4 separate regions of the Homo sapiens genome follow, and regions 1, 2 and 4 are each linked to region 3. Evidence: promoter capture Hi-C in 16 types of primary human blood cells and fetal thymus (Javierre and others, 2016). All regions are on one chromosome and are shown on one strand. Each heading gives the region's core, a stretch centred on a gene start or on the middle of the fragment in contact. The rest is flanking DNA. Distances are from core to core; before and after follow the strand shown.

Region 1 (5,307 bases), core at 1,715-4,214, 190 kb after region 3:
GTGATGAGGCTGGAGGTGTCTGCATGGCCTGATGAGAAAGCACTTGTATTCTGGCCTAAGGAGTTTGCATTTTGCATGTCCTGAGGACAATAAGGAGTAACAGGATCCATTTTGTTAAAAAACAAAATTCTGGAAACAAGAAAAGAATGGACAGAAGAGGCTTGGGTGGGCAGGGAAAGAAGAGGGAGATCTAAACTCTGACTTTTTTTTTATCTTCCCCAAATTCCTACCTAAGGGGCCTCGGGAGTCACACCCTACAAACCATACAGTCTCATCAGAGGGTTTTTTGTTTGTTTGTTTTTGTTTTTTTGAGACAGAGTCTCGCTCTGTTGCCCAGGCTGGAGTGCAGTTCTGTGATCTTGGCTCACTGCAACCTCCACCTCCCAGGTTCCAGCGATTCTGTGCCTCAGCCTCCCAAGTAACTGGGATTACAGGTGTGTGCCACCACACCTGGCTAATTTTTGTATTTTTAGTAGAGACAGGGTTTCACCATGTTGGCCAGGCTGGTCTGGAACCCCTGACCTCAAGTGATCCACCCACCTCAGCCTCCCAAAGTGCTGAGATTACAGGCGTGAGCCACCGTGCACTGCGTAGAAGGATTTTTATTTAACCCCCCTATATAAGGTGGTCTGCTTTCCAACCTGGCTCTGGCATAACATCACATAACAAATAAGGAAGGAAATATAAATATTTAAACCCCAAATATATTTTCTTGCCATATCTTGAAATTGCCTGGCAAGGTTGTCTCTTGTGGGAAAAATCTATGGAGAATCTATAGAGATTCTATGGAGATTTCCCTTCCCCTCCCCTCCTTTTTCCTCTTTCTTTCCAGACCCAGGAGATACTCAACTAAGAGCCAGGTAACCTTTTAAGTGGGATAAGAAACATTTTACAACCTGCTCTCTCTGAAGTCTGCTGAAAGCTTCTTCAGAACAATAAAACTTGGTCACCACCATCCTTTATCTTAACCTAAACATTTCCTTTCTATTGGTCCCAGGTCTTTAGATAAACTCAACCAATTGTCAACCAGAAAACTTTAAAATCTACCTATAAGCTGGAAGCCCCCACCTCTCCCCCACCTACAAGTTGTCCCACCTTTCTGGAGCAAACCAATGTATTTCTTAACTGTATTTGATTGAAGTCTCACGTCTCCCTAAAATGTATAAAACCAAGCTGTGCCCTGACCACCTTGGGCACATGTTCTCAGGCCCTCCTGAGGGCTGTGTCATGGGCCATGGTCACTCATATTTGGCTCAGAATAAATCTTTGCAAATATTTTACAGAGTTTGGCTCTTTCTGTCAACAAGGAGTATTAGAGGGTACCTCTTGGAAGAGAACCTGGGTGCTGGGGGACAGGGGTGGGAAGGAGACCTATTTTTTACTATAAATCCTTTTGTTGGATTTCTACATGTATGTTCATTTCCTATAAAACGATAATTGTGTTTATTTTTAAAAGAAAAGCTCTTCAAGCAAATATGAGGGAAGAGAAGTACTTTCCCAAAGTGTGGTGGAAGGGAAGGGGGAGAGTTTGTGATGGGGTGGGGGTGATGGGCCTGAACTTCATCCAAGCCTCTGAGGACCCGAGGAGCAGAAACTTGTGGGGATGTGAGCTAGAAGGTGAAGCCCACCGGTTCCTAGGTGACCTCTCTCTGACTTCATGGGCCATGGAACAGGCTGTCTCCGTGGTAATCTCAACAATGCTCAAGGCAGTCAGTGCCTGGCAACTTTGGACTTAAGAGTATCCGGTAGGTGCAAAACATCAGCCAGGCACTTGGTGCCCAAAGCCTTTGATTACACCCCAGCTGGACATCTAGAGCCTGGACGTCAGCTTGGGGAAAACCACTTCTTATGCAGAAAGTAAAGCCCAGCAAAGGCCACCAGGTATTCCTAACAGGAATACACCTAACAGGGCCTTTCCTCCCCCTCTTCCCAGCCCCACCAACTCCTTCCCCACTCTTTGCCCTACAGGGAACCTCTGCACGGCCAAGCTAGGATATTGGGTTTCTGGACTCTTGCTAGAACTTCTCTGAGTCATTCATTTTCTTTTTATTTATATATACTGTGTTGCCTCAACTATATTGCACCATTTAGTCTCAGGTCTCTGGGAAAGAGAGGATCTCACAACAGAAACATTTTTCCAGAAAAACCCTGAGAGGGGGCTGGCCTCTTTGAGGGCTTAAATGTCTCTGCGACGTCACAGAGGCATGCCAATTTCTGTCTTAGTCCATTCGGACTGCTCTAACAAAAATAGCACAGACTGGGTGGCTTAAACAGCAGGCACTCTTTTCTCACAGTTCTAGAGGCTGGAAGTCCAAGATCAAAGTGCCAGCAACAGGCCTTGGGAGGGCCTGCCTCCTGGTTCATAGATGGCCATCGTCTCCCTATGTCTTCACACGGTGGAAGGGGCAAGGAAGGCTTCCCCACACACCTGCCCTTTACTCTGCGGAGCCCAGCTTCCTACTGCAGTAAACTCTCACATGGCCAAGAAGGTAAAGGTCTGCTCAGGGCATTCACCTCCTTTCAGTGGTTCTCCACATTCAGCCCAGATAGACTCAGCCAACAGGAAACCCATTAACCAAAAGCTTGTGTTCTGTTTGGCCTCTTACACATCAAAGGGAACATAACAGTGAAAATTATAATAAGCAACAATGATCATCATCATTTCCAAGAGACAACATCAGTGCCAGCAGTTCCAATGAGACCCTGGGGTGTCAGTCACTGTATCTGCAAACAGAAAATGCAACTCACCTGCCTCTCCAGGCATCAAGAGTGCTCATAACGCTTAGAAAACTGTAAATAGCTTATAACTGCCAGTTGCTGCTATTGTTCATAAGTGCTTTGGGGTCACAGCTCTCGAAATAATGAGAAGGTGTGCTCTCGGCAATGAAATTAAACAGGCATTTCAGGGCAACCTCAGCTCAGATCCCTGGAGAAAAAAAGAACCTACAGCTTACCTCCAGAGGGGCACTGAGGATCATGTTTCACCCTGAGAGGGGGCTGGCCATGGAAGGAAATGACCTGAGGTCGGGGTGGGCCTCCATTCTGCGGGAGAGGGCAGGGAAGATGCTTGGCTGCTCTCACAAAGGAGCTTCTAGGATCTGCCTCTTTTTTTTCCTCACCTCCTCCTAAGGGAAAAAGTTGTTTTCCTTCCTGCGCCTCAGGGCAGAGCAGAAGTTGAAATGGACTACTTGTTCCTAATATTATTTACAGTTCAGCAAAGGACTTGGGGTCTCCAGCCTCAGGTCTAGAAACTCCTTCCACAGCCACACCCTGAAAAGGACTAGGTTAGCAGCAAAGCTGGGGCTCCTGAGATAGTATGCGATCTTCTGGTGGCGCTTTAAGCTTGTGGTATAAACTGAGGTGGTCTCAGGTCTCTGGGAAAGAGAGGATCTCACAACAGAAACATTTTTCCAGAAAAGGGCGCAGCTTTAGAGTTGCCTTAATAACATGGGATCTAGCGCCACCTAGTGCCTGCTGCGGAGCTTGACATGGGTCTTGCTCTGATAAGGTGGTTTTGGTTTTTTTGGAAATTGGCTTTAACCAAGAGAGAGACCGAAATGGAGAAACACGTTTTCTGCACACAGGGCTGTCCTCATGCCCACGATGAGGGACTGAGAGTTTGGTGGAAGAAGCTGAAAAGCTACAATCTTAATGTGTCACGGACGGGGGTGTTGGGTGAGGGGATGGGGGAGTCTTTCTCTTGGAAGGAAGCTGGGGTGACTCACAAGTAATATTTAGAGTCTTAGTCCCAGAAGATTGGCTTGGATTTGTCTGCATGAATATTTTTGCTCACACTAGAAAAAAAATACTGGTGCTATTTTATGACTTCTATGCTTTTCAAACTAGTTTCTCAGAGCTCTCCCAGAGCCAGCATAGGGGCTGCTTACAAAAAGCCCTTGGAAGCTGCTTCACTGTGGAATCCACTCCCGCTCCTTGCTACTGCCTACAGGACAAGCAGCCCTCCTTTTTTGTCCTGCCACTGTCTGGCTGCCCTCTAACCCTCTACTAATTAAAGCCACCATTTGCTATTTGTTTAACGTGATTCATTTCAACCTCAGAACAGCCAAGGCAGTGGATATTGGTAATCTCAACTGATCTTTAGGGAGGTTACAGGACTTACTCAAGATCTTTCAGCTCATAAGCAGAAGTGGGATTTGAACCCAGAGTTATTGAGCTCCAAAAAATTTGTTCATTTCACTACAGTACTCCATCTGCACTGCTAGGGGTAGTGGCTATTGCAGAGGATGCTACAATGTCCAGGAGGTTCCAGGAGGTTCTTGAGGAGACAAAGAACCTCTGAACTAGAGGACTTCTAGCTTGGAGGACACTTCCTGCTCTGGGCCTGTCCCTGTGACTCCAAGGCCTGGCTCGATGCTTGGTGTAAACACCTCCCTCCTCACAGCATCTGCCCTCCCTCAACACAGACATTTCCTCAGCCTACACTTCTCCACCCTTGGAAACCACCCCAGAGGAATAATGAGAGCAAAGAGCAGGGCAGGGAGTTGGCAACTCTGTAGAATGCCAGGAGAATCGTGGATTTGTCTGACTTCTGGGCTTTGGCCTCATCTGGTGGAAAACTGTGAAAATTCCCTACTGGCTCCTCCCTTTCCTTCCCTCCAGGCCCCTCCACCATTCTCCACCAAATAGACACACCTCCAGAAGAAGGTTAAGTAAGGCTACTCTCTGGATGCCTCTGAAACAAAGTGGTTTGCTTAAATGTACAGATTCAGAAATAAAGTTTAAATGGGGCAGCAGGCTGCAGTGGGACCCACACCCTGACCTCCATAAATGGATAAATGTTCAGGCTGCTGGAAGACCATGGAGGTGGTTTGGGGGTATCCGAGGAGCACAGAATTAAGAGACTGGGACTTCAGTCCCCATTCTGTCACTCCTCAGCTCAGTAATTTTGGGCAAAGTCACTTAACTACTGTGAGCATCAGTTTCTTCACTCAGAGAATGAGGACAATGATTCTCTTACCTGTAAGCTAACAGATGAACAAGCGCTCGGTAAAGCCCTGTAAGGGTGTGAGGTACCATACAATGAAGGAACTATGGGCATGCAGGATTTAGCTGAGAGTGCCTTTACTCACTTCGTCCTTTCCCTACCTCTCCCTCTTCCCCAAAAGGAGTCTGTCTCCTATAAAAGGGGTCTTAATACAGACTCACACACACGCACACAGGGTCTTCAGTTCTTGTGGGCTTTTCATTTTTTTTTTCAGAGTTAAATCATCTTGGAAAACAGCTTTTCCAATAAAGACCCAGTGGCCAGGACTGCTGGATGCACTTTCTTTAAAGGTGGCGGGAAAC
Region 2 (5,215 bases), core at 1,602-4,101, 160 kb after region 3:
GAACCCCAGAGTCTGGCTGTACAACACCTGCCTAACCAGCAGGCCTGGACTGAGGTCAATGCACAGAAGAGAAAATACAAGTGTGTGTGTGTGTGTGTGTGTGCATGTGTGTGTCGAAACACGTATATGTATAGGGAGTGAATGGAATGTCCATGGAGAAAGAGACCTATTTTCTGTGGGTATTCTCCTGAAATCATCCTTACTTTAGCTCTGGGGGGCACAGCTCTTGGATGAGGTAACCCTGTGGAAATCACGACCTACTCTCACCTGAGTCTGCTGTGGTTTAAAGGAGCAGGAGTAACTGAAGGAAGAAAGGGCTCATATTCAGTGGCTGTCCTAGGTATGGGGTGAGGGCTCTTCAGGGGGACTAGAGGGGTCAGACTGTCAGTGAGGGGGCTGCAAGGCTGTGGCCTCAGGTCTAGCTCCATTGAGGGACAGAAGGCCCAAGAGGACCTGCTCCTCATCACTCAGCCTGTTCCTTCCCCCAAACGTCCTCCCTCCCCTTTTACCTACCCTTAGGAGCCAGCGCATTCCCCCTCCTCTGTTCCTCCTTCCTCACTAATTCTAGCCTCTCCTGTGCTTGTGATGCAGGAATGAGCAAGGGCTGAGGGCTGCAGTCCTGTCTCTGGGAGTGAGGACCACTGCTCACCCTTTCATGCTGACTGCCATCCAAGGCGCTGAGCGTAGTAGGCTTTCCCCTGGGGGCAGTGAGAGCCAGCTGTTTCCCTGCCCTATGGAATCGCTTCCTCTTCCTTCAGTGGTTCTTTGATCCAGTGAAGGCCCCCAGAGTCTCAGGCTGGCATGGTGCATAGTCAGTTCAAGTCAATTCAGTCTCTTTGAAGATGTCCGTGGAACTTCACAGCCACACTACATTAAGTCTGCTTCCAGGAGCTGACCCTGAGATAAGGGTTTGTGCACATGTGGTTATGAAGGCTGTGCTCCCACGAAAATCGCAAGGGAATGTGGACAGTGGAACAGAAAAGGAAAGCAAGGGGCTACCTCAGGTGAAGTCAGCAGCAGCCTGGCCCCTGAGGAGCTCTGGAGTAGAAATGACACCTTAGAGTTTGTTCCACCTTGAGGCAAGCGAGCTGAGTGTCATATGGTTATCAATCATTGGCTGCAGGTGGCCTCGAGGGTTCATACATTCCCAGCCTGTCTGCTCCTGAAGGGTGAAAGTGGCTCTGTTAGCTTGAGGACAGGACTGTTAGGGAGCCACAGGGGCAGGTTGTTCCCAGCAAAGCTCCCACAGCTGGCGGGGGTGGGCTGTGGGGAGGGTTTTGAGTGGATCTGGCCGGGGCACTGACAGAGTGTGTGGACGCGAAGGGCAGCTACAGCATCTCCCTTGGAAATCAGCCGGCGTGGGCTGGGGCTGGCAGCAGATGACAAAGGGCTCTGAAACTGTGGCAGGGAGGATCTGTCAGAGTGGGGAGATTGGGTAGTTTAGAGATCATTATGGGCATCCCCTATAAGACTTCTCAATATCAAGCTTTAAGTGGAACCAACAGATTTGCATGGCAAAGTTCAAGGTGTTGTTTTCCAGAATCATCACATTTCTCCTTCCCACTCTGTTCCTTCGCCTTCCTCTTATCATCAGGCTTTTTCATTCTACGGAATTCCTGTGTCACCTGCTGTTTGGACCACTCTCTGGCTGCTCACAGTGCCTTGACGTCCTCACAGGGTTAGTTCCTGATGGTTGTTATGCACGCAGCTGTGGAGATGAACTTGGATTTGATGCTCAGCTCAACCACTTACTGTGTATCTTGAGCAAGTTACTTAACTCTGGTAAGCCTCACTTTGCTCTGTAAAATATCATAATAGGAGGACCTACTTCACATGTAGTGTGAGAATTAAAATAGATAATTCACGTTAAGTGCATAGCAAGGTATCCAGCATGGTTTGCGCTCAATAAATGTCAGCTGTTGTTTCCAAATAATTGTCGTTATTCTTGTGTGCAGACAAGGTTTCCACACATATCTTGGTTCTGTCTGAGGGCAGGCACCAGATACGGTACCATATGCACTTAAGTAGGTGTTCATATGTGCATGGGGTTTACACACAGAAAAATCTGGGCAAGGAGAGAAGCCCATAGGTTCAGGACCCCTCAATCAGCAAAGCCTAGGATATCCACATTCCTCATGCTGGAGCTACCGCCCTGATATCAGAGCACAACATACACAGAGACAAGTGCCCCCTGGTGCCATCCTGCCTTTTTTACTATGCCAGCACCAACAGCCTGATGAGGGAGGCTCCCCTGCCTGAGGGAGAAATGTTCTCCAGGAGGAAATATAAGGCTTGGCAGGAGAAGGCAGTGGAAAGGAGGCTGGAGATCAGGCCATCAGGGAGGGCAGGGAGCAAGGCTCCCACGTGTTCTGCTTTGCCTGGGACAGCTGTGAGCCAAGTCTCAGGCTAGTCAGAGAACAAGCAGGTTCGACTCTGCGTTTCCAGGCCAGCCCATGCTGACTCAAACGTTACTCAGTCCTGGGCGGGGTCACCTAGCTCTCTCTGAGTCTGCCTTATTAGAGCCTTAGCAGTCCCCAGACTGGCTTCCCTGTTTAAAGCCCATGCTTGTCACTCTTTCCACTGCCACAGAGAATGGGGCTGAGTGTGCACGGCACTGGCTACCCGCTCCATGGGCTGCTGCCTCTGCCAAAGGGAAGATAAGACTTCCCTTCATCCACAGCTGCTGCCAGTGAGACACACTCAGGTAGGGGTGGCGCCCAGCCTCAGAGAGTGCTTTCAGAGTGCCAGGGAGAAGAAGGAGGCAACACCGCATGCATCTTGCTGCAAATAAACAGAATCCACCCTGGAGAAAGGGATGAAACAGGGGGTTGTGTGAGTAGTCCAAGGTGGGCAGGAAGTGGGCGTGTTGGTAGCAGGCAGCTGAGCTCTCTGAGGGCATTCTGGCCATTTTGCATAAGCATCACAAAACCTAGGAAACGTATGGTCAGTCAACCAGGAAAAGCCGAGAAAAAATGAGACACAGCTGCTTGTCAGATGTTACACACATGCTCAGTGTGAGAAGCCCTGCCAGTGACACACACACTCATATATGCACACACACACTCAGGCACACGCACTTGCATGTGGCATCAATGTCCATGTTGGAAGATGAAGGATGGCCACTAATAATACTCCCCTTTACCTTCCAAGTTTTCAGAAAACCAAATAATTTGTAGTCTTGTTCTACATGCACAGGCTGGTCTAACCTAGACAACCCCATTCCAGGTCTTTGTGGCAGAATGATGTTAGAACTCACCCTCTCAAGGCCTTCTAGGAACAGTGGGAAGTTAAAACTGTGGGGAAGACAGTGGGAGGTAGATGAGTCAAACCTTTTGTGGTCATGGACAACTTTAAGAATCTGATTAAAATTGAGGGGTTCTCTCTCTTTAGAGAAATGTGCATAGAGTGTATTTGTACAATACTGACATGTGACTCCAGGGGGTCATGGATCTCCCTCCCCAAGAGCCATGTATGAGTCCCTGGTTAAAACACCCCATTGTGAAGGATTCCGAATAGGAACTGAGCTAAACAAAGGCAAAGCACCAATGATGCTGGCGTCTCCAGCCACCACCCCCAGAGTCCCCATCTAAGGGATGTCATCCTGAGACTCAGAGAGTGACAGATGACAATGTCAAACCAGTGACACATCTCAAAGAGAAACCATCCATAATGCTTTCTCAGAACCACCCATTAGGTTCCAGACCTTCCAGTGTTCAGGGTACCACATTCCTAGGCCAGTAGGAGAGCAGGTGTGGAATGGCTGGATGAAACACCTTGAGGTGACAGTCCCCCCACCATCACAAATAGGAAACCAGCCTATTGTGGGGAGTTTCCCTGCCTTGTTGGAGGAGGCAGCAGCAGAACAATGGGAGTGTGGAGAAGAATCCCACACGGAGTGCCCTGTATGGGAAACTTGGAGACAAGCTCAGAATGAACTGTGATGCAGAGTGCACACTGACATGCCACTGCAGGTGCATCTCAGAAGGTGAACTCAAGGGCACGGGGACTGGGGCAACTGTCTACTTCACCTTGCTTCATGTTCATCCATTCACTGAGCTATCATTTATTGAGCTCCTGTGATGTACTAGACACTGGAGAAACAGACGCAATGACATGGCCCCAGTCCTCAAAGAACTCACAGTCTATCAGGGGAAACACAGCCCTACACTGCACATGATGAGGCAGTGCCATCTGATGAGTGCAAGCCCAAGCTTCTCTCTGAAGCTGAAATTATACTGCTGGAAATCGGCATGTGTTGAAGAAAAAAACCTTGTGCAGTTTGTGCCAGCATAGTCCAGAGTAGGACTCTCAATCTTGGCTGGGTATTAGAATCACCTGGGAGGTTTTGTTAACCTATCAATGACCAGACCATGCCCCAGATGAAGTAAATCAGAGTTTCTGGGTAAGGTCTCAGTCATCAACATTTTTTAAAGCCCTCCAGGTGATTCCAACATGTAGCACAATTGAGAACCTCTGGCCAGAGCTTCACATTCTCCTCTTGTGTGTACTATTATCCCAGTGTTCCCTGAATGGAAGCATTCATGATTGAGGAGTTTAGGACCTTAGGGAACAGCCAGGATGGGGTTGGACTCGTGAGTAAATTGACTTAAGCAAAAAGAGCTTTCAAACATTGTTTTATGTTCATGTAACTCAGTGACCAGTCCACTACTGACATCTTCAATTTCTCCAGGCTTGATTGATGCCATGAACACAGAGAGGGATCATGGTTTGTCTTGCTTACATCTAAGGCCCAGAATCAACTCTTCTGGATTGAATGACGGTTAATGATCTCTTTCCTTCAGGCGGAACTTTCTTTCCATCCCTACCTGAAAGGGTATAACCTGGTCCCATAGTCCCAGCAGAACAGTCATCATAATTTAGGGAGCATTTCCCAGCATTCCAGGAAATATGTAGGATGTGGACGTTTGTTGGTGTTGAGGTGCAGAAGGCAGTGATTCAAAATATCACAGAACCAGTAGGAAAAGGCAGTTCAGTAGGAATTCGCTCAGGGAAAATGACACACAGCTGCCTGTCAGGATACTGTACACATAGAACTCCAGGTGCCACACACACACACACACACACACACACACACACACACACAGAGAGAGAGAGATTTTATCAGCAGGCAGCATCATCCAGAACAAAGGCAGCAAGAATAAATTCCTTTAATTCCCAAATGCTCAGAAATGCCTATCGGCCCTTGGTTTGGATG
Region 3 (5,199 bases), core at 283-2,782:
AATTTAGGAGACTACCACAGATACTTTGTTTAAACAAATATACCTCTGCGAAGTGTTAAAAATGACTACTAAAAAAGCCAACATTTAAACTGGTAAAGCATATAAAATGTACGTGACTGTGTTAATTATATTAACATAATAATGTTGAAACATTTGTTGTCCCTAGAGTTTAGCATATATTTTAATGTCTAAGAGGTTAACTGAAAGCAACAATTAAGTGTAGCATCAAAGATAAACTCTGTGTCTCCCCTCCACCAAATAAAATCCTCGGAATAGGAGGTGGAAGGAAGACTTACACTGTAGGAAAAGTTGAAAACCAAAGTTCTACTTTACTTCTCCTAAAGTGAGAACTTTGAAACGGAACCATTACTTTTGTTTCATCCCCCCGCCCAGTAAAAAATTTACATGTATGAGTCAGTTCTTCCCTCGGCCCCAACAGAAAAGATTCAGTATAACCAAGCTATAACTTGCACAAAGCAACAAGGAAAAAAAAACCTTGCTATCCCCATTACTTTCCTAATAGAGCAAGGACCCTACCACCCCTCACTCCATACTCTGCCTCTGCCCCAAGCAAGACGCAGCACCTGCCAAACCAGGCACTTAAGGAATATGGTCCAACTTTTCAAACGCAAACTGGAGAGGAGACGCAGATAATTTCTTGAAGAGTGCAAGAAGACAGCAGAAAAGGTACTCTGAGGAAGGGATGCGTGAGCTTTGGGGCTGTCCCCTCTGCCTGTTGGAGGATTCCAAATTCGCTTGCTTCAGAGACCCTTGGAAGCAGCACACTCAGGTCGCGGCCAGCCTCGGGCCTCGGTGAAGGAGGCAGTGTTTACACCTGTCACGAGGGAGGGGGAAGGAGAGCGAAGAAGCCCAAGCAAAGCCCCAAACTTCTGAACAGCTCCCTGGAGAACGCAGCCAGCGCGGAGCTTTGGGAGGTGGAAGCAAAGGGGCAGGGAGAGCCGGCGGTGGCCGGGGAGGGAAGGACTCCCACTTACCCGGCCGGTGCCCGGGATGGCGAGGAGGGGGCCGTGCGCTTCGGGCGCCACCAGCGGCGTTCCCGCACTCGCCGCAGAAGAGAGCAGAGCCGGGAGCCCGCAGGCCCGCAGAGCCAGCTCCGTCCTCACAGCTCCCGGCTCCGCGGCGGGCAGATGCTCCCGGCCCGGGTGAGGGTCTGGCTGCTGGGCCGGGCCTGGTCCCCGCACCCTCTTTCCCCGGCGCAGCTAGGGGAGCGGAGCGGCGGCGCTTACCTGGCTCCTTCGGGGCGGCTGCGATGGGCATGGCTCAGGGGCCCGGGGAGGAACTGACTCCCCGGGGAAGGACCGTCTATTCCGACGCGGAACTGGTGAGAGCGGAAGGCCGGCTGCTCACAGCCCTGTCAGCGCAGCAGCACCATGGACGCCCACCCGGAGTTTCACCGCTGCCGCGGGACCCCCATCCCACTACCCTCCGCCCTCTTCCGCCGCCGCCGCCGCCTCCTCCACCTCCTCCGCGGAGACCCCCCGCCCACTCCACACACTCTCCCATCATGCAGCGGGGGAACCGCTGCCGCCGACACGTCACTTCCGGGCGCAGGTGGCTAGGTCGGGACCGGGCGCTGGTGGGTGCTGTGGGGTGGGGGAGGACACTCCAGGGGAATTGGTGTCACAGAACGCTTATCCCTGCGCAGGCGCTGTCGTGCAGAGCGCCGACCGCCATTTTGGGTGCGGGCAAGCTGCCCTTTCCTTTTACTTCCTTGCGAGTCATAGAGCTGTAGGGGGATAGACGTCTTCCCGCACTCAGGCGCCGGTTGAGGCTGCGCTCCTGGCGAAGGACAGGTGCTCCTTTCAGCCGGTTAACGTTCAGCTCAAGACCGGATTAAGTCTCTTGCTCTCCAAATAAAATTGTAAAGGTTTGGAAATATAGAACCACATTTTTACCAAAAACCTACTAGAGAGCATTCGTCAGCTTGCCCTTTTCGCCCCGAAAAACGACTTTTTCATTCACAGCCTGTCTCTTCCTCTTTTTAAATTTATGCCGACAGAGGAAGAAGCTGATATTTAACAAATAACAAGAGGTTGCGATAAATAGAATTTAAGGTGGGAAAGCAGCCGCCAAACTGACAAATCGTCTTCGAGACCGACAAGAAAATAGTAGTCCGGAATTTGGCTAATGGATGGAGAAGGTGGTCGTTTTTCATAGACCCTTACGGAGAATATCTAGTGAAGCTAAAGAGATCACCATAAACTTATGCATTCAAACGCATTTCTGGAACAGAGGTCGTAACCGATTTTGTTTCCATCATCAGTCCTGAACAGTTGATTATTTATATAATCAACTGTTATTTATATAAAGGTAATAAAAATATTACCTTTCCTCCTCCTTTACAATGAATATCTGTTAGAACACCTGCCAGTGTAACAATCAGACTACAAGGCTACAGGATTATGATTACTGTCTCGGATGATGAGCCCGGGGTCCTACAAATCATGACCCCCGCCGGCCCCTCATTCTGCCCATATTTGCCAAACGTCTGCATCAGTAATTTGAATAATTTAAAATAGTTCCAAAACAGCAAAGCTCAGCAGTTACGCAAAGAAACAAGAATGGAAAACATCCCCTCAGGCACAGAGAAGTGTCCACCCCTTTGGGTGGAGGAATTATACAAATCAGGAGAAAGATAAGGACAATAGCAGTTCATCACGATTTATCCCGCCTCTGCAATGTTCTAGACAAATTAACTCGGAGCGCTCCAATGGACCCGCATTTGTCTCTTTACTATTCAATCGCTGTAAGATATACGGAGACTGCATCACTTTAAATGGGAGTATCAATTGCTTTGTGGTTATGCTGGATTTTGTGTTATTGCTCAGTCACTAAAGTAAGAAAAATCTATATGGCTTGTCAAATTTATGCCTATTGTATTTCGCCCCCTGCTGGTTTAGCTCGTGTGCAAGCTTGAATTTGTGTGTGTGTAGAAACTAGAAATTGATTTTAAACGAACACATGCTTGTTTTCATTTTACAGCTCTACTAAACAGAAATATCAAAATAAGAACATATGACTAGACCTTAAAGCAGACCCTACACTAAGAACATGTTTAAACTAAATGAATTTAAACTGCACTCCAGCCTGCGCGACAGAGTGAAACCCTGTCTAAAAAAAAATTAAATTAAATTGCACACCCCCCATCAGCTTACAATTTTGTAATAGGGAAATTGAGTACCTATTTGGCCAACTAACTTGTAATTGGTAATCTTACATGTAATTCCGAAGACAGTGCCCTAATGCTCATGACATTTTATTACAAAGGGAAAGTATTTGAGTGTTTTTAAGGTGATAAATCTGTGGGAAATATAAAGTCCATTTCATTTGGAGTCAATGATAGTATTGTTTTTATTTACCTTTTAAAAATTATGGCCATAACTGCATTACCTAAGATTTGGCATCAAGAAAAGAAGAAGAAAAAAATTACCAGTTAACATTTGTTGTATTTACTTCTAGTTTTTTTTTCCTGTGCGTACTTTTTACAAACTTGTAATCATAATTTAAGTAGATTTTGTGTCCCTTTTGTGTTGTAAGCATTTCCACCCATCGTTTAATGTAAAACCTTAATTTTAATTGGCTGCTTAGTAGTCAATGGAATGACCACTATATGGATAGTTTTCAGTATTATAAAATAATACTTAGATGAACATTTTGTGTGTGTGGCTTTGTTCAATTTTAGAATTTTTTTTCTCAGTATAAAAGTTACTAAGCGAAAAGGCAATGAATGTTTTATTGGTAATTTATCATCTCATATTATTTTCCAAGAGACTGCTAATTTAGAATGCCACCAGCAATATATGAGTGCACTAATTTTACCACCTCCTTACCAACCAGCAGTGAATGATAATTAAGAGGGGAAAAAAAGATGGAAAGAATAAAAAGTGAAAACAGTTTAATTCATTTTATATTGTGTAAGAAATTAACAGACAAGCAAGAACAAAACCTCAGCAATGTGTTGGTGTTCTGGAAAAGCAATATGCGTAGAACCTGGGTCTATGACCAGTTCTGTTGTCACTATGATTTTGTATAAGTTACTCAACCTCTCTTGACCTCAGTCTCCTTATATAACAAATGAGAGAATACAGTCAGATCACAGGTTCTCAACCCTCTTAGGACAAATAATGTTTTGGCACATGTATCTCTTTAAGAATACGGTAAAAGCTTTGGCTCTTTCTATAGAAAAATGCTTGTATCCACAGACACTCAAATTTCTCATCCTAAAGCTCATTCACAGAAGAGGGTCTTTGAACCACAGCTTAAGAAATATGCACCAGATAATCGCCAAGGTCCTTTCTGTATCTAAACATTTACTTAAAATTTTATTTATTTATTTATTTATTTATATTTTTATTTTTTTGAGACAGGTTCTCCCTCCATTGCGCAGGCTGGAGTGCAGTGGTGCCATCACGGCTCACTGCAGACTCAACCTCCTGGGCTCAAGGGATCCTCCTACCTCAGCCTCCGAAGTAGCTGGGACTGCAGGTGCATGTCATCACGCTCAGCTAATTTTTTTATTTTTTGTAGAGATGGGGTCTCACTATGTTGCCCAGGTTGGTCTCAAACTCTTGGGCTCAAGCAATTCACCCACCCTGGCTTCCCAAAACGCTGGGATTACAGGTATTATGTCACCACTACCTCTTGAAATATGTCCTTCATACAGTTCTATAAAAATAGGTTATTAGGCTGGGCATGATGGGTGACGCCTGTAATCCCAGCACTTTGGGAGGCCGAGGTGGGCAGATCACTTGAGCCCAGGAGTTCAAGACCAGCCTGGGTAACATGGTGAAACTCCATCTTTACAAAAAATTAGCCAGGTGAGGTGGCATGCTCCTGTAGTCCCAGCTACTCGGGAGGCTGAGGTAGGAGGATCACCTGAGCCCATGAGGTCAAGAATGCAGTGAGTTGTGATTGCGCCACTGCACTCCACCCTGGCTGACAGAGCAAGACCCCTTCTCAATAATAATAATAATAATAATAATAATGAGCGACTTTCCCAAAGTGTGATGAGCAACAGAGATTTTGTTTCTTAATCATTCCCACTGATCTTTCTTGGATTTGCTTATCAAATTTATTGCATAAATAATAAAAATTACAATTTGGTGTTATAGTACTTCCTGGAGTACTGGATATCTAGAACTTTATGGACATATTCAATGTATCAGGGAAAATATTGAA
Region 4 (5,074 bases), core at 1,564-4,063, 230 kb before region 3:
CAGGCGTTATTCTGAGCGTACCTTTGTGGGAAACGATTTTGTTTTTAACATGCCTACTGGAGGGCTCATAACCTAACAGGGCTGGGAGAAACTTCAAGAACCATCTCATCCATTCCCCTGTCTTTAGCTAGAAAACCCTTAAATTTTTTTTCAGAAAACTACCCATGTATCCCCAGCCTTTTGGTAACTCCATTTGTTCATCAATCCTGATTTCAGGGAGCTATTTCTGATATTTAACCTAATCTTCTTCGGCTCTCTTTTTTCATCTCATGCTTCTCAACTCTAAATGGCCCTCGTGCCTACTGCTTGCTTATTGACACAAAGTTGATATTATAATCACTGTTATTGTTTTATCCTTATGGTTATTATTAGAACTGACAGCACATTAAGAGGTGTACAAAGATACATAAGTAAATATATGTTTAGATCAGTAGTCTTACAACTTTGAAAAATCCAGGACTGTTTGGGTGTTTTTTTTTTAGACGGAGTCTTGCTCTGTTGCCCAGGCTGGAGTGCAGTGGCGTGATCTCAGCTCACTGCAAGCTCCGTCTCCTGGGTTCATGCCATTCTCCTGCCTCAGCCTCCCGAGTAGCTGGGACTACAGGTGCCTGCCACCACGTCCGGCTAATTTTGTTTTTGTATTTTTATTAGAGACGGGGCTTCACCGTGTTAACCAGGATGGTCTTGATCTCCTGATCTCGTGACCAGGTGATCTGCCTGCCTCAGCCTCCCAAAGTGCTGGGATTACAGGCCTGAGCCACTGCGCCCAGCCAATTTTTGTATTTTTAATGCAGACAGTGTTTCACCATGTTGGCAAGGCTGGTCTCAAACTCCTGACCTCAAGTGATCTGCCCGCCTCGGCCTCCCAAAGTGCTAGGATTACAGGCGTGAGCCACCGCACCTGATCTGTTCGTATGTTTTTAACTTGGAAATGGGGATGTGAGCAGATACGAATAGCAGAGTAGCAGGATTGTTTTCTATATCTCAGACTGTGGCCCACTCCTCAACAGCCATCACTCATCTTGCACCCAGCCTGAGAAGAAAACATATAATCGATAAATGTCTTTTAAACATGCAAAAGGGGAGCAGGAAGGTGATGGTGGATGCTATGAGGGTAGAAACCATGGGGGCCTGGGGACTGCATGAAAATCTGCCTCAACCTCATGTGAGAACTGGAAGAAAATATTTGTCAGAAGTGAATTGTAACAATACCTACCCTACCCTTCCCTCAAAGTGTCCCAGCTAAAAGCAGAAATGAAAAACAAAGAGATGTACCCTATAGGAAAGACATTCAAAGGCCTGGGGCTTACGTGATCTTGTTCTGTTTACCTTTTTTAAAAAATTCATAAAACATTTAAAAAAATGTATCCATGTTGCAAAATGTACACTTAGTGCATTACTTCCAACAGCTGCATGTTGTTCCATGGCACCCATTACCTCGTACTTACCCATTGTGCTGGTGATGTATATGCTAAGGTTGCCTTCAATATCTGGCTAGCTCAAGTGCTGCTGTGATGAACACCTCAATTGTGGTCACTTAAGGACCTGTGCAAGAGCTTCTTAGGGGTGCACATTCCCAGGAGTGGAACTGCTGGGTCATCGGGAAAAATACATTCTACCACATTCTATATTTCATTAAGTATTGTTAGTTAATGCTCCAAAATGATTGTACCAGGACTTAACTCCCAATAACAAAGCAGGAGGATTCAAATTTCTTCCTATCCTAGGCAACACTTGATATTACTAAACTTTCACGTTTGCCTATTTAATAGATGTAAATAAGTATTTTGGTGTTTTTATGTACAGTTATCTGATTATAAGTGAGGTTGGATATCTCTTCATCTACTTGTTAGTCTCTCAAGGTTCCCTTCTATAAATCTGCCTGTTCATATCCTTTGGCTATTTTTCTATTGCATTTCTTTTTTTTCTCAGTTATTTGTAGGAATTCTTAATACTGTATATTCTAGATATTAATCTTTTGTTGGCTTCAGCCTTTGAAAATACTTTCCAATCTATCAACTTTCTCTAAACTTGTTTATGATGTTTTTTGTTGAACAGAACAGTTTAAAATTTTGATGTCATCAAGTTCATCTTTTTTTGATTTTATAGTTTATGCTTTGAGTCTTGTTTAAATGCTTTTCTTCTTTTTTCTACCCTAAGATTACAAAGCTATTCTTCTATTTTTAATTTCTATTAGTTTTACCTTTTACTTTTAGGTTTTTTTTTGTTGTTGTTGTTGCTAATGTAGAGCTCACCTTTGCATATGGTATGAGATAGGGGTTTAATTTTATATTTTTCTCACAGTGAATCAATTTCCCCAACATTATCTATGAAACCAAATCTCTGTGTTAGATTGGATTATTGTTCCCAATCCTTCTTGTTCTCCTGGCTCTACAATTATACACCTGTGCCTTTTGGCATGAAGTTTTGCATTACCTTCCACTATTGATGTTCAACTTGGCCATATGACTTGTTTGGCCAATGGAATGTTGGTGAATATGATGAGAGGAGAGGTGTTAAATGTATTTGAATGATTTGGCTTGACCTCTTGCCAGAAGGAGACATGTGGTGAAGACTTGAATCTGACCTGCATCCTGGAGCCAAGTCCAGCTGAATTCAGCTGAACCCAACCAAGTCTTAAGGAGCCCAGATGAGATGAGCTGAATCTCAGTTCATATACAGACCCATAAGGGAGAAAAATAAATGACTACCATAAGCCACTGATAAGTTGGGATTATCTGTTACATAATATTATTATTGCAGCAAGCAATAGCTGACTAACTCAACATGATTTCCTCATGGATTTGTGGTGTTACCATGATCACATATCAGATTCTCTTATGTAAATGGGTTGTTTCTGAGTTCTCTATTCTGTTTCATGGTTCTGTATGTCTGCTACTATAAAAAATGACCGACTTATAAAGAAATTTAGTCTTCCATGTGCATTTTAGAATACGTTTAAATTCCCCAAATCTTGCTACAAGTTTGGTTTGCATTGAATTTATAAACACATTTAGAGATAATTGAGATCTTAATAACGTTACATCATCTTATCCATAAACATTATATATACCTCTATTTGGGTTTCCTTTGAATTCCTTCAATAAATTCAAATATGTTAATTCCTGGATACTTTATAGTTTTGTTGCTTTTATAAATAGTATCTTATTTTCTAGTTTGTTAGTGTAAGTGTGAATGAATACTTTCAGTTTCCATGAATTGATTTTCTTTTTCTTTTTTTTTTTTGGCGACCAAGTCTCACTTTGTTGCCGAGCCTGGAGTGCAGTGGCGTGATCTCGGCTCACTGCAACCTCCGCCTCTGATCCTTCAAGCAATTCTCATGCCTCAGCCTCCTGAGTTGCTGGGACTCAGGCATGCACAACCACACCAGGCTAATTTTTGTATTTTTAGTAGACACAGGGTTTTTCATCATGTTGTCCAGGCTGGCCTCTAACTCCTGACCTCAGATGATCCACCTGCCTTAGCCTCCCAAAGTGTTGCCACTGTGCAGGGCCATGAATTGATTTTCTATTTGGGAATCTTGCTATATCAGTTGGGATTAGATTTGGCTATAGGTAATGCAAACACACAAACACAAACTGAAATAAAAGTGTCATGATGAGACAGAGGTTTATTCAAGAAATTCAAGAAGTTTGGTGAGTAGATAACTCAGGGCTGGTACTGTTATATCAGGTGTCTTCTGTTTTGTTGCTCTGCCATGTGTGGCTTCCCTATCCAAGGTCAGCTTATGATCTAAAATGACTGCTAACACTGCAGCCATTATGTCTGCATTCCAGATAACAGGAAAGAGGATGAAGGCACACTTTCTCCCTTTAAGGATGTATGCACTACTTCTGCTTACAACCCGTTGCCTGGGGCATGACAATACTTAGCTGCAAGGGAGGCTGGCAAATGTTGTTTTTATTCTGGTTGGCCCTGTGCCCTGCTAAAAAACCTAGTATTATGGAAGAAGGGGAGAACAACATCTCTGTCACCTTGCTGAACGCTTATTATTTCTAATAGCTTGCTATTTCTATTGGATGTTTTACGTGGTTGATCGTATTACCGCAAACAATCCAAATTTAGTTTCCTTCCTTCTAATTCTTCTATTTCCTCCTCCTTTAAAAAATATCATTCTGTTAGCCAGAACTTTCAGCGTCATATTAAATAGTAGAGGCAACATTATCTTGATCTCAAACTTATGTGGAATGTGTTTAAAGTTAATCCATTAAGTAATGTACTTGCTGTACATTTTGGTCCTTTATGAGGTTAAGTAAATTTCCTTCTATTCCTAATCTTATAAAAGTTTTTATCATTAATAAGTTATATACTCTCTCAAATGCTTTTTCTTAGTCTTTTGAAATGGATTATATTGATAGACTTTCTGATGTTAAATCATACTTGAATTTCTGGAGTAAAGTCTACCTAATTTATTATGTTTTCATGATAGAGGACTAGATAGGTGGCTAGTCAGATAAATGCATTCTAAAGACAGGGAAATACGTTTTAAGGTTTCTCCTAGCTCACTGTAATAAGCATGTTGGATTTAGTTTGCTAGTATTTTACCTATAATTTTTGCATCTATGTTCATAAGTGAAATGGGCCTATTCTTTTCTTGATCTGTTCTTTTTTCAGATTGAGAATCTAATTTGGCTGTGTAGGTTTAAAAAAAGTTTTTCCCTCAACCTTCTTTTGCTCACAATGGCCTTTTTCTTCATTTGTTTTGTAATTTGGATTGTGAGCTCATGTTTGCCTAGGCTTTATATGTAGAAATTCTATGAGGTCTGGGTGGAATCCTTTATCCTTGATAGAGGATTTGCTTTTGCTTCCTGATCTATGTGGGTAGTATATGTTCAAATCTGTTTAAAAGGAGCTTGGCTCACGCCTGTAATCCCAACACTTTGGGAGGCCGAGGTGGGTGGATCACGAGGTCAGGAGATCGAGACCATCCTGGCTAACACAGTGAAACCCCGTCTGTACTAAAAATACAAAAAAAAATTAGCCGGGCGTGGTGGCAGGCACCTGTAGTCCCAGCTACTCGGGAGGCTGAGGCAGGAGAATGGCCTGAACCCGG

Evidence for each region. Contacts are between HindIII fragments. The CHiCAGO score rates a contact against its expected background, and 5 or more counts as called.
Region 1: a contact is called between a fragment that was not itself captured here and the fragment with the promoter of AFTPH in region 3, in 16 of 17 cell types (megakaryocytes, M2 macrophages, naive CD4 T cells and 13 more). The highest score is 30.4, in megakaryocytes.
Region 2: a contact is called between a fragment that was not itself captured here and the fragment with the promoter of AFTPH in region 3, in 1 of 17 cell types (megakaryocytes). The highest score is 5.2, in megakaryocytes.
Region 4: a contact is called between a fragment that was not itself captured here and the fragment with the promoter of AFTPH in region 3, in 1 of 17 cell types (neutrophils). The highest score is 5.7, in neutrophils.

Annotation. Positions count from the first base shown.
Region 1 is chr2:64,329,207-64,334,513 of GRCh38, reverse strand. LOC105374769 (a long non-coding RNA gene) reads left to right here and starts at 1,735. Exons shown (of 3, transcript NR_187908.1): 1 at 1,735-1,881; 2 at 2,295-2,489; 3 at 3,847-4,033. The HindIII fragment of the contact is 760 bases long and covers 2,585-3,344 here.
Region 2 is chr2:64,357,447-64,362,661 of GRCh38, reverse strand. No RefSeq gene overlaps it. Among named protein-coding and RNA genes, the nearest start is that of MIR4433B, 19 kb to the right of the region's middle. The HindIII fragment of the contact is 2,725 bases long and covers 1,489-4,213 here.
Region 3 is chr2:64,520,661-64,525,859 of GRCh38, reverse strand. AFTPH (aftiphilin) reads right to left here and starts at 1,532. Exons shown (of 10, transcript NM_203437.4): 1 at 1,248-1,532. It overlaps AFTPH-DT (AFTPH divergent transcript), which reads left to right and starts at 1,705. Exons shown (of 1, transcript NR_136167.1): 1 at 1,705-3,671. MIR4434 (microRNA 4434) reads right to left here and starts at 347; the gene lies at 295-347. RefSeq lists enhancers at 653-1,153, 1,154-1,654, 1,756-1,975 and silencers at 1,026-1,275, 1,286-1,365, 1,396-1,555. The HindIII fragment of the contact is 6,179 bases long and covers 1-2,935 here.
Region 4 is chr2:64,755,045-64,760,118 of GRCh38, reverse strand. LOC105374777 (a long non-coding RNA gene) reads left to right here. Exons shown (of 6, transcript XR_940177.3): 6 at 2,305-3,130. Among named protein-coding and RNA genes, the nearest start is that of SERTAD2, 100 kb to the right of the region's middle. The HindIII fragment of the contact is 5,701 bases long and covers 1-5,074 here.